Regions from separate parts of the Homo sapiens genome. Here region 1 is linked to region 2. Evidence: promoter capture Hi-C in human tissues and cell types (Jung and others, 2019). All regions are on one chromosome and are shown on one strand. Each heading gives the region's core, a stretch centred on a gene start or on the middle of the fragment in contact. The rest is flanking DNA. Distances are from core to core; before and after follow the strand shown.

Region 1 (5,044 bases), core at 1,246-3,745, 150 kb after region 2:
CTGACTTTCCCGTTAACTACTTAAACTGTAGAAATATTGAGGGAAATAAGGGCTAAAATACAGAATCCTGAAACGAATCAGTTTAGTATATAAACTAATACTCTACTGAAAGCCTCGTAAGGGAAACATAGTTTATGATCAGCAGAAATGGCCTGATGACAGAAAACACTTATAAGTAGCATAAAATTAGAATATGTTCTAGCTTAACTTCTCTCTCCTCTCAACTTTAAAAAATAAACTCTTATATTAATCTGACATTGCTTTTGAATAATTTTAGACATACGTACCCTTTTATGATAATATACTTTCATTGTCATAAACTAGAAGTGACCTCATAAATCATTCTGTCATTACAGGTACTTTCAGAAAGAATAATCTAATATCAGGTATGAAATTTTAAAACTTATTTTGGCAGATGCTCTCAATTTAGTTGGTTTACATCCAACATGTCCATTCAACATCTTAGAGGTATTTTTTCCAATTGCTACATGCTGGCTACTGCTTGGGAAGTGATGTTGCTCAAAAACAGAATTTCTGGGGTGGTAGACTGGTAGTACCTACTCTAAATTTTTTTCCTTCTAAAGTTAGTGCAGAACTCTGAGTCTGGATAATTCATTCACATGTAAAGGCAAACCCAAAATAGATTTTGAAGAAAAATCTTGGCCTTGCTTTCATCTTTCTGAGGGTGCATTTCCATGACAATGACCATCCAATCACAAGACGGTCTTGATCACGCTCTTAAAAAAAAATCCAACAATGGCCACCTCTCAAGTTACCAGTTTGATTTTAACCAACCACAGGTTGTGGTATAACAAAAAATAAATAAATATAATCATGCCTTGCTAAACGACAGGGATACATTCTGAGAAACGTGTCATTAGGTGATTTTGTCATTATACAAACATTATAGAATATACTTACTACAAACCCACATAGAATAGCCTATGACACACCTAGGCTATATGGTAGAACCCATTGCTACTAGGCTACAAAACTGTACAGCATGTTACTGTACTGAATCCTGTAGGCAGTTGTAACCAGTAAGTATTTGTGTATCTAAACAGGTGTAAAAACATAAAAGGTAGGCCAGGCGCGGTGGCTCACACCTGTAATCCCAGCACTTTGGGAAGCCGAGGCAGTGGATCTCTAGGTCAGGAGTTCAAGACCAGCCTGGCCAACAAAGTGAAATCCTGTCTCTACTAAAACTACAAAAATTAGCTGGGCACAGTGGCAGGTGCCTGTAATCCCAGCTACTCGGGAGGCTCAGGCAGGAGAATCATTTGAACCTGGGTGGCAGAGGTTGCAGTGAGCCAAGTTCATGCCACTGCACTCCAGCCTGGGTGACAGATTGAGACTCTGTCTCAAAAAAAAAAAAAAAAAAAAAAAAAAAAAAAAAAAAAAAAAACCAACCAAACAAAAAAAACCATAAAAGGTAAAATAAAAATATGGTATTAAAAAATGGTGTCCAGGCACGATGACTCAAGCCTGTAATCCCAGCACTTTGGGAGGCCAAAGCAGAAGAACTGCTTGAGCCCAGGAGTTTCAAGACCAGCCTAGAAAGACCCTGTCTCTACAATTTTCTTTTTTTTTTATTTAGCCAGGCATGGTGGCATCCTGAGTAGTTCCAGCTACTCAGAAGGCTGTGGTGGGAGGACCACCTGAGCCTGGGAGGTTTGAGGCTACAGTGAGCTATGATCATGCCACTGCACTCCATCTGGGGCAACAGAGCAAGACCCTGTCTCAAAAAGAAAAGAAAAAATGATATACCTGTATAGGGTCCTTACCATGTATGGTTGCTGCTCTTGGGGAGTCAGAGAGTGAGTGGTGAGTAAATGTGCTTACTGTGCTCTACTGCAGACTTTCTAAACACTGTATACTTAGGCTGCACTAAATTTATATAATTTTTTCCCTCATTCAATAATAAACTACCTTAGCTTACTATAACTTTTTTACTTTATCAGTTTTTAAATAACTTTTTGATATTTAGCTAAAAATATAAACACATTGTATAGCATACAAAAATATTTTCTTTATATGCTTATTCTATAAGCTTTTTTCTATTTCTAAAATTTTTAACTTTTTTGTTTTACTTTTTAAACTTGTCAAAAGCTAAGACATAAACACAGAGGGTCTACACAGGGTCAGGAACATCAACGTCATTGTCTTCCACCTCCACATCCTGTCCCACTGGAAGTTCTCAGGGGCAATAACACACAGGGAAGTATCCTCTCCTATGATAACAATGCCTTTTTCTGGAACACCTCCTGAAAGACCTGCCTGAGGCTGTTCTGTTTAGCTTTTTTTTTTTAATAATCAGAAAACACTCTAAAATAATAATAACTAGTGTAGTAAATACATAAACCAGTAACACAGTCATTTATCATCATTATCAAGTATTATGTACCGTAAATAATTGTATGTACTATGCTTTTCCACAGCTGGCAGTACAGTGGGTTTGTTTACACCAGCATCACTGAGTAATGTGTTGCACTATGACGGTGACAATGTTACTGGATGATAGAATTTGTTAGCCCCATCATAATCTTATGGAACCACCATCATAAATGAGGCCAGTGGCTTATGTGGAACATTACTGTATTTGGTCTTTGTCCCCAGGTTCCTGGCACAGACTTCCTAAAACACTGGAATCTCGTGAGTGATAAAGAGCGTCTTTTGTATTCTCATGAGATGACTCAAAGCTGCGGAGGGAGGGAGGTGCCTCGAGAGCTTCTAGATGGGGTCTAGCCACCAGAAAGATCCAGCCAGGATTAAAAGGTTGGAACTTTCAGCCCCACCCGACAGTCCACTTCTCAAGAGGGGAGGGGACAGCAGATAGAGTTAAATCACTAAGGCCTAGGCCTCGCGCAGTGGCTGACTCTTGTAATCCCAGCACTTTGTGAGGCTGAGGTTGGACTGATTACTTGAATCAGGAGTTCAAGACCAGCCTAGCCAAAATGGTGAAACCCCATCTCTACTAAAAATACAAAAATTATCCAGGCGTGGTGGCATGCACCTGCAGTCCCAGCTACTTGGGAGGCTGAGGCAGGAGAATTGCTTGAACCCGGGAGGCAGAGGTTGCAGTGAGCTGAGATTGCTCCACTGCACTCTAGCCTGGGTGACAGAGTGATACTCTGTCTCAAAAACAAACAAACAAACAAACAAAAATCACCAAGGGCTAATGATTTAATCAATCATGCATAGGTAATGAACCTCCAAGAAAAACCCTTAAATGTCGAAGTTCTGAAAGTTTCCAGGGTGATGAACACACTATGCGTCTGCGAAGGTGGTGCACCCAGAGAGGGCATGGAAGCTTGTTGGCACCACCCCTGAATCCCCCAACCTACCACCCCTGAGTCCCCCATACCTTGCCCTCTGCCTCTCTTCCATTGGGCTGTTCCTGAGTTATATCCTTTATAATAAACTGGTTAAGTGTAAGAAAAGTGTTTTCCTGAGTCCCCTGCGCAGTTCTAGTGAACTCTCAAACCTGAGGAGGCGGTCATGGGAAACCCCAAATTTGCAGTCAAGGTGGACAAAAGTACAGGTGGTCTGGGGACCTGGGACTTACAACAGAGCTCTTAAATCTGTGGAGTCTGAGGCTAACTCTGAGAAGTTAGTGTCAAAATTGAATGGAATTGTTGGACACTCAACTGGTGTTGGAGAACCAGAGAACACCTCTAGTGAAGGAAATAAAAGCATTTCACTCCAGAATATGCTTCTTTGACATGTTTTGAGATGGCTGTTCAGAGGGCTTGCAAACAGAAGTACCCCTGCAAAGCTGTCTTTCATGGGGGAGTTTTGCATCAATCCAGCCAGGTCTTCCCTTGTCCTGATCTAGGAAAGATTTAACTGAGAGTCGGACACCTTTAAAGATCTGAAAGAAGCATTTACCACCTATCCTCTCTGATGGCTGCCACCTATCAGGTTTCATCTGTATAACAAGACTACCTTCACAAGCCAGGCCTCCTCCTCTTCTTTCCTTCCCCATAATCTATCTTGCCACTGTAATCTTGATTTTTGGCCATGCCCTGAGCCCCATTCTTTCCGTGACCTCAAGATGGTATAGAAGCTTCTGCACCCCATTGTAGGCTTGGGTAAACACTTCATGGTCTCCCAAACACTTGGGTTCTCCTCATGAATGTTAAAAAAAAATTGTATGCTTCTCTCTTATTAATCTGCCTTTTATGAGTTCATTTTTCAGTGAAGCTTCAGAGGGTGAAGGGGAAGTTTTTCCTTAGCCCCTAGAGAGTTAAGGACTAGGAAGGGCTTTGTTATCAAAGGGACTGGCGTGTGCTCTACTCATTAAGAGGAAGAAATATGGGAAGGAGTCCCTTTTTAACACCGACCATGAAGTAGTTCTGCATCAGTCATACAACTAAGAGCAGCATGCAATTTACTGTCCCATTTTTCATGCCAATTTATATGTTCCCTGGTCTGGACTTTCCATTTTTAAATAGTATATCGTAATTTCTTTAATAAGTGCAATGATGAGAAAATATAATAGCATATGGATGATCTCAGCCTCCTTCCTCATGCTGCCTCCTAAGGGAACTCTGGGTTTGTTTCCTTTTCCTGGTTCTGAGCTTATGAACACAGGTGTGGGAAATGAATTAGGGGGAGAAGTGGAAAAAGAAATATAGTGAGAGAAGAAATAGAAGAAAATAAACCTAAAAGGAAAGAAGGGGAAAAGGTAAGGACATGAGGAGATACACTGACTGGATATGGGAAGGGTTTCAAAAAGGAGAAAGAGTTTGGGGAAGTAGCTGAGAGACATGTAAAAGGTCAGAGAGATGGAGAAAGAGGATTTTAAAGTTTTATCAAATATATGGCATTTATTACCCCCTTGGATGTTTTCTGAAAGGTGAAGTAAATATTTATTTTCAATTATTTTCTCTGATATACTTATTTCTTTGAATGTGACTTAATCCTGGGACTGGACCAAGGCATGGCTGGTTATACACAGGTGACACACGTGTACTTTTCTGAAGATGCCTTAAAGGTGGAGCATGTATGAATGAATGAATGAATGAATGAGAAACAAACTTCA
Region 2 (5,560 bases), core at 688-3,187:
TGTATCCCTTCTCTTCCCATCAGCCTACAAATACACTCAAGCTCAATCTCATTCTCTCCATGGGGAGAATCCTCCTTTCACCCTAGGTCCTCTTCAAACTGTTAACCAATTTCTTACTTTCCCTTATGCTCTAGCTAAGGACACTCAGTCTATCCTATCTCCCCTTCCTCACTTTCCAGTGATTACTAAACCAAGCCACCTGGCTTCTCCTACTAAAACTCAACATATTCGCTTTAGCAAAAATCACCAATTAATTATCTTCTAATTGAGACTATCAATGACACTTTTTCATTCTTTTCTCACTAAAAAGCAACTGCATTCGACATTTATCCATTTGTCCCTGCTTCCTAAAACTTTACCCTTCTGATTTCTGCGGTCTCACATCCTTCTGGCACTTGCCCATCTTCTTCATGGCCTCCTCCGACTTTCCCTTAATATCAATGCTTCCAAGCATCTATACTTGGCCCGCTACTCTTTTGACCTTATCCTTTGAGTAATTTCTTCCCCGCTCCTAGTTTTCATATGAAGAAGACTCCCAAATATTTATCACTAGTCCAGATCACTCTGCCATACTCTATGCATATTCATATATCCACCGCCTCTTGGTCATCTCAGGTTGATGTTACACAACCACATCAAATTCAGTGTAAACAAAATTTAAATCTTACATCTGCCTATGTTCTCTATTTTAAATGGAGACACTCCTACCTATATACACCCCAGGAGTCATACCTGACTGGTGCCCCTTTCCCACATATTCAATCAATCCAGCCTTAATGACTGTATGGCCTAAATATTTTCCCAGTCTATCCCATCCTCTTACTCCTTGCCCTAGGTCAGACCTTCTTAATCTATTAACAAGACTATTCCCACAGACTCCTAGTCTCTGGCTCAAGTCTTATTCTTTTCAAATCCATCCTCCATAGTGTTGTCAAACTGATTTAATTTTGTGGTCACTTTTTTACTTAAGGCTTTTCAATAAATCCCCCTTCCAAGCTCCAGGGTACTCAAGGTTTTCATTTTCTGGCCTCGATCTACTTCCCTTGCTCTCTTCTTACCACTCTGCCACATAACTAGTGATCCAGTAATAATGAACACCTTGTAATTCTAATTTACTGATTTATCTCCTTGGCCCTCTAACTCCTATTCATCCTTTATTTCAAGTGTCATCTCCTCTGGAAGCCCTCTTAAAGGCCAACATCCCCAACCCCTCAGGTAGATTAGATTTCCCTTCCACGTGCTCTCATATTTCCATGTGCATCTATCACTGCACTTACCGACGCTCTTTTGTCATTCTACGCCTATGTGTCTGCTCAGCCCTTACTCTAAACAGTAAGCTCCTAGAGGGCAGAGATTGCTTACATCATCGTTACATGCCCAGCGTACCGATCTTCGACTACATGCATTCTGAAAACGTTTCTTGAATAAATAAAACACTCTTCTCAACTTCTCCATCATCTAATCCCCACCACCATCCCCTCCACTGAGCTTGATCCGCAGATTCCAATACTTCAAACACCAGCCTGAGCATTTGTTAGCTGTCTCTATTCTCCGCTAGACGAAGAGCTCCGGGAGTGAGATGACCGGTCATATTCACCTGCCTAACTCCGGTACTTGATACACGGGCAAAAGAATGAAAAGTTTAAGCAGGCCGAGGGGTTTGGTCTCGGACTTCTCTCACACACACCCTCCGCCAAGCTCACCCCGCCCGAGGACTGGGGACGCGTGACCCGCGCAGACCAGCGAAGACCCCCGAATCCCAGCTTCCTCGGGCTATGCAGATCACCTCCACCCACTCCACTCCACTCCAGCGTCCTCTTCCGTCGGAAGTTCCGGAGGGCGCTACGGACTCACCGGCAGGCGGAACTCCAGATGCTCCTGCGCCATGAGGAGCAGATACCTGTTAAGGGTACACGACAGCGCCATTGCAGCTGCCCACCGTGCGCCTGCGCGGCCCGCGCTAGGTCCCTCTTTCTCCCTCCCAAAGCCCAGTCTCCACAGAGACAGAGCCTGAAGGGCCGGAAGCGGAAGCTCTGCGAGGCAGGCGCTATCCCGACGTTTCTCGCGCTCCGAGTCCGAAACTCCGGCCGCTGTGGGAGGGGCTTCCTCACCTGTGAATGCCTGGTGGTTAGGGGTCTCCCAGCGCTGGTAGCTGGTGAGCGGGGACGCGTGGCTTTCAGGAGCAGCCTGTGATAATAAGACAGTATATTTCCAAGTTATCGTTCCACTTGGAGTGTGCTTCCAGCTTTCTCTACAGCCCTTCAAAACCTGTTCTTCAAAATTGGACTGAAATTTCACCATTTCCTTGGAAATTTCACCATTTCCTTGTAGGTTTGTCTAACCAGCACAGCTTTGGGAACTGATTTAGTTGGGCCAGTCATTTAACAGTATATTTTTCGTATTTATGTAACAACTTTTCGAGAGCACATGCCTTATAACCCAATTATAATAAACTCTTGAGGTCTGATATAATCTTTTATGGTTCACTCTATTCTTAACAAAAACCAAAAGAATATCTTCCTCAAAGTAGGCAATAATTATTAGGTTGTGTTATTTGTTAGACTCAGGACTAAATCCACAGCCAGCCATAAATTAAAACTTGGAGAAAGCTCACACTGGCACAGATTTCATAGCAGATAGTTTATGAAATATATTTTAATTGCATATTCTATGTATATATGTGACTTTTTTTTTTTAAGACAATCTTGCTCTGTCACCCAGGTGAGTGCAGTGGCGCAATCATAGCTCACTGTAACCTTGAACTCCTGGTCTCAGGGGATACTCCTACCCTAGTCTCCCAAAGTGCTAGAATTACGGGCTCAAGCCCTCCCTCTGGGCTATTTCTGCTTTTGAGAGTACCGAGCCCTTTGCCCTATTAAAAATTATTTATTTTGCATTTCTCTGTGGTATTGTACAAGGTGCAAAAGAGTATGTATCTGGCATATCCCCAGCGGCATGTGCCAGAAACGTAGTTGATGCGCAGTGGTAGTGATTAAGAACATAGGCTGTGGTGTCAATATTAGATTCAAACCTCACTTCCACCATTTACCATGTATATGCTCTTAACCTCTCCGAGCTTGAGTTTTCTTTTAAAAATGGAAAAACACACTGCCTCCTGCAAAGGATTGTTACAAGGATTAAGTGGAATAATGTTCATAAAGTGTTGAATATAACATCTGGCATATTGAATGGGGCCAATAAGTGGCACTTGACATTTTTCTTAAGAAAATCACATGAGAATTTTTGTTAGCAAGAGATCTGTTTTTGTTAGGAATATGTCTCAAGTTCACTTGTGCTAAGTGACTCTGAGAAGCATAGCTGTCTCTTGACCCCAAAACTTCAGAAAAGGGGGTAAAAGTACTTTGAGACAAGAAAAGTTGTTTACTATTTGAGAAGAGAGGCCAAGGTTGGGACAGAAAACCAATGAGATGTTGGGGAAATGATGTGCAGTACTTGATATGCCCCATCCCCAGAACTTGTCAAATCTTCAGCAAAATTAATATGGAATTTTGATGGGGCAACTTTATAGAGAATATCAAAGAATTGCTGATTTTCATGCCTGGATTAATATGATGCTATATAGAGACAAATGAGACTACAAGGCCTGGAGAACCCAAATGGAATCAGGTGTCACTGATTTTTCACCCAGCTCCTTTGTGCTACAGTTCAGGACTAAATCTATACTAAATCTCCACCTCAGAAACCAGCAGGAGAGTATTTACATCATGAATCTAAATTGTTGGATACCTGGTCTGGAGAAGTAGAGATTAACCTTGCACAGGCCACTAGAGTTAGTGTGGAACTACTGTGACATCAGTGAAACTGCCTTTGAGGGACTCACAGCCAGACCTGTTCAAAGTTCTTGAGCTTACAAGAGTGGTTAAGAAGCAGCAGGAGAATAAGGACTTTGGAATTTGGTGATCAAACTGCATCCAGAGACTTGCTTTTTTTTTTTTTTTTTTTTTTTTTGTACTGTAAGGAGCAAGGAGGTTCATAGTCTGGCTTCTGGGAACTGATCCAAAGTTCCATCCATGTTCCATCTTCTAGGGCAGACCTCTTAGAACCTGTCTCCTTCTGTGAGACAGCTGTTGTGCAAACGTTAAAGCCTCTGGTATAGGCCGCCTGTTACTAAAAAATCAGAGGACATTCCTGGGAAGTAAGGATCAGAAATTGGAAAGGGGAATTTTGAGTTTTGGTTTTAATATGCCACTTAAGTATTGAGGCTAGTAGGACACACTCAGAGAAATGAATAGAAAGTTAACAGGTCCCAGCAGCAGAGGTCACATGTAATATCAAAACTGCCCATGCATCTATCTCAGGCTGAACATCTAACACTTGAAAAGGGTCTAGGTATCACAGAGAACCATAGGGATTTGTACACCAATAAGAGGGAGAAAAGTTATCTTCATATGTATTAAGACTATGATTTTTGCAATTAGTAAAAAGAGGCTTCTGAATAGTTTTGAGAATAAAATTTTATTGGAATAAGTTATATAAGAATTGCACAAACTTTACTGCAGCAGAGCATTACTGAGGTTTGAATTTCTTGATGTCCCAGAGGGGTCTCCCCTCTTGTCAATCTTAATGAAAATAATTTAGGAAAAGAGAGAAATAATACTGCCTACTCTAAGGAAACAAGCCTGTATGAGTTGGAATTCTGAGGCACCAATTCAGACTTAAGCAGCTGGAGTTGATTTAAGTATGACTCAGCTACTTGAGGTCAAATTTCCAACAAGATCCCCAGAAGCAGAGAAATGTAGATCCCATCCTCTTTTCTAAAGACTCCCCAAAACAAACTTGAAGCCCTAGTTACAAACGATGCCCTCTAATTTGCTACCTGGAAAGCAGGTTCTATGCATAGAAAAATATGTGCAGGGAAACAGGCTGGAGACCCAGTAAGTCTTTGAATGGGATGCCATTTATTACTTCCCTTGGCAGAACTTGTGAACCAGAGGTAACAAAGATTACAGTACATTTGCCTCATTTGAGCCACGTCTTTTGTCCTCCTTTCCTTCCTTAAATCAGAAGCAATCATGATTTCTAAACAAAGAAAAGCTTCTGGCAAGTCATTTAAAGTAGGTATGCCTGTCATCTTCTACACGCTTGTTAAATCACACAGATTCTTGTTTAACCACAACTCCCAGTAATCCTCATCTCTTGCTCCTATTTGCTTCCCATGAGTAGGAAAATTATTATATATCGTATAGTCAGTCTCAGGTCCCATAAAAGAGATTTTCTTGAGAGTCTACCATAACAAGGCCCAAAGGGGAATTGTACTTAATCCTATAGGGCACAGGTTCTCAAACTTGGCTGCACATTGTAATTACCTGAGGAGTTTTTTAAAAATACCGAGGCCTGGAATCTATCCCCTGTGATTCAAATTTTATTTGGCTGGTGTATGGCCTTGACGTAAAGATTTTTAAAAGTTCCCCAGTTGTTGATTTTATGTGCAGCCAAATTTAAGCACTACTTATGGCAGGAGTTGTCAAAGTGTGGTCCTAGGTCAGGCAGTATCAATATCACCTGGAAGCCATTTAGAAATACAGAATCCTCCCCGACT

Evidence for each region. The method cuts DNA at HindIII sites, captures the fragments that hold promoters and counts their contacts. A contact is called where the count stands out against the background at its distance.
Region 1: a fragment that was not itself captured here is called in contact with the fragment with the promoter of TRMT11 in region 2 in 1 of the 25 tissues and cell types used here (adrenal gland).

The regions. Positions count from the first base shown.
Region 1 is chr6:125,837,230-125,842,273 of GRCh38, reverse strand. All of the region lies in intron 2 of NCOA7 (nuclear receptor coactivator 7), which reads right to left. Among named protein-coding and RNA genes, the nearest start is that of NCOA7-AS1, 21 kb to the right of the region's middle. The HindIII fragment of the contact is 5,608 bases long and covers 1-5,044 here.
Region 2 is chr6:125,982,917-125,988,476 of GRCh38, reverse strand. It overlaps TRMT11 (tRNA methyltransferase 11), which reads right to left and starts at 1,937. Exons shown (of 13, transcript NM_001031712.3): 1 at 1,855-1,937. The coding sequence starts at 1,926. RefSeq lists enhancers at 1,054-1,883, 1,417-1,906, 1,884-2,714. The HindIII fragment of the contact is 9,309 bases long and covers 1-5,560 here.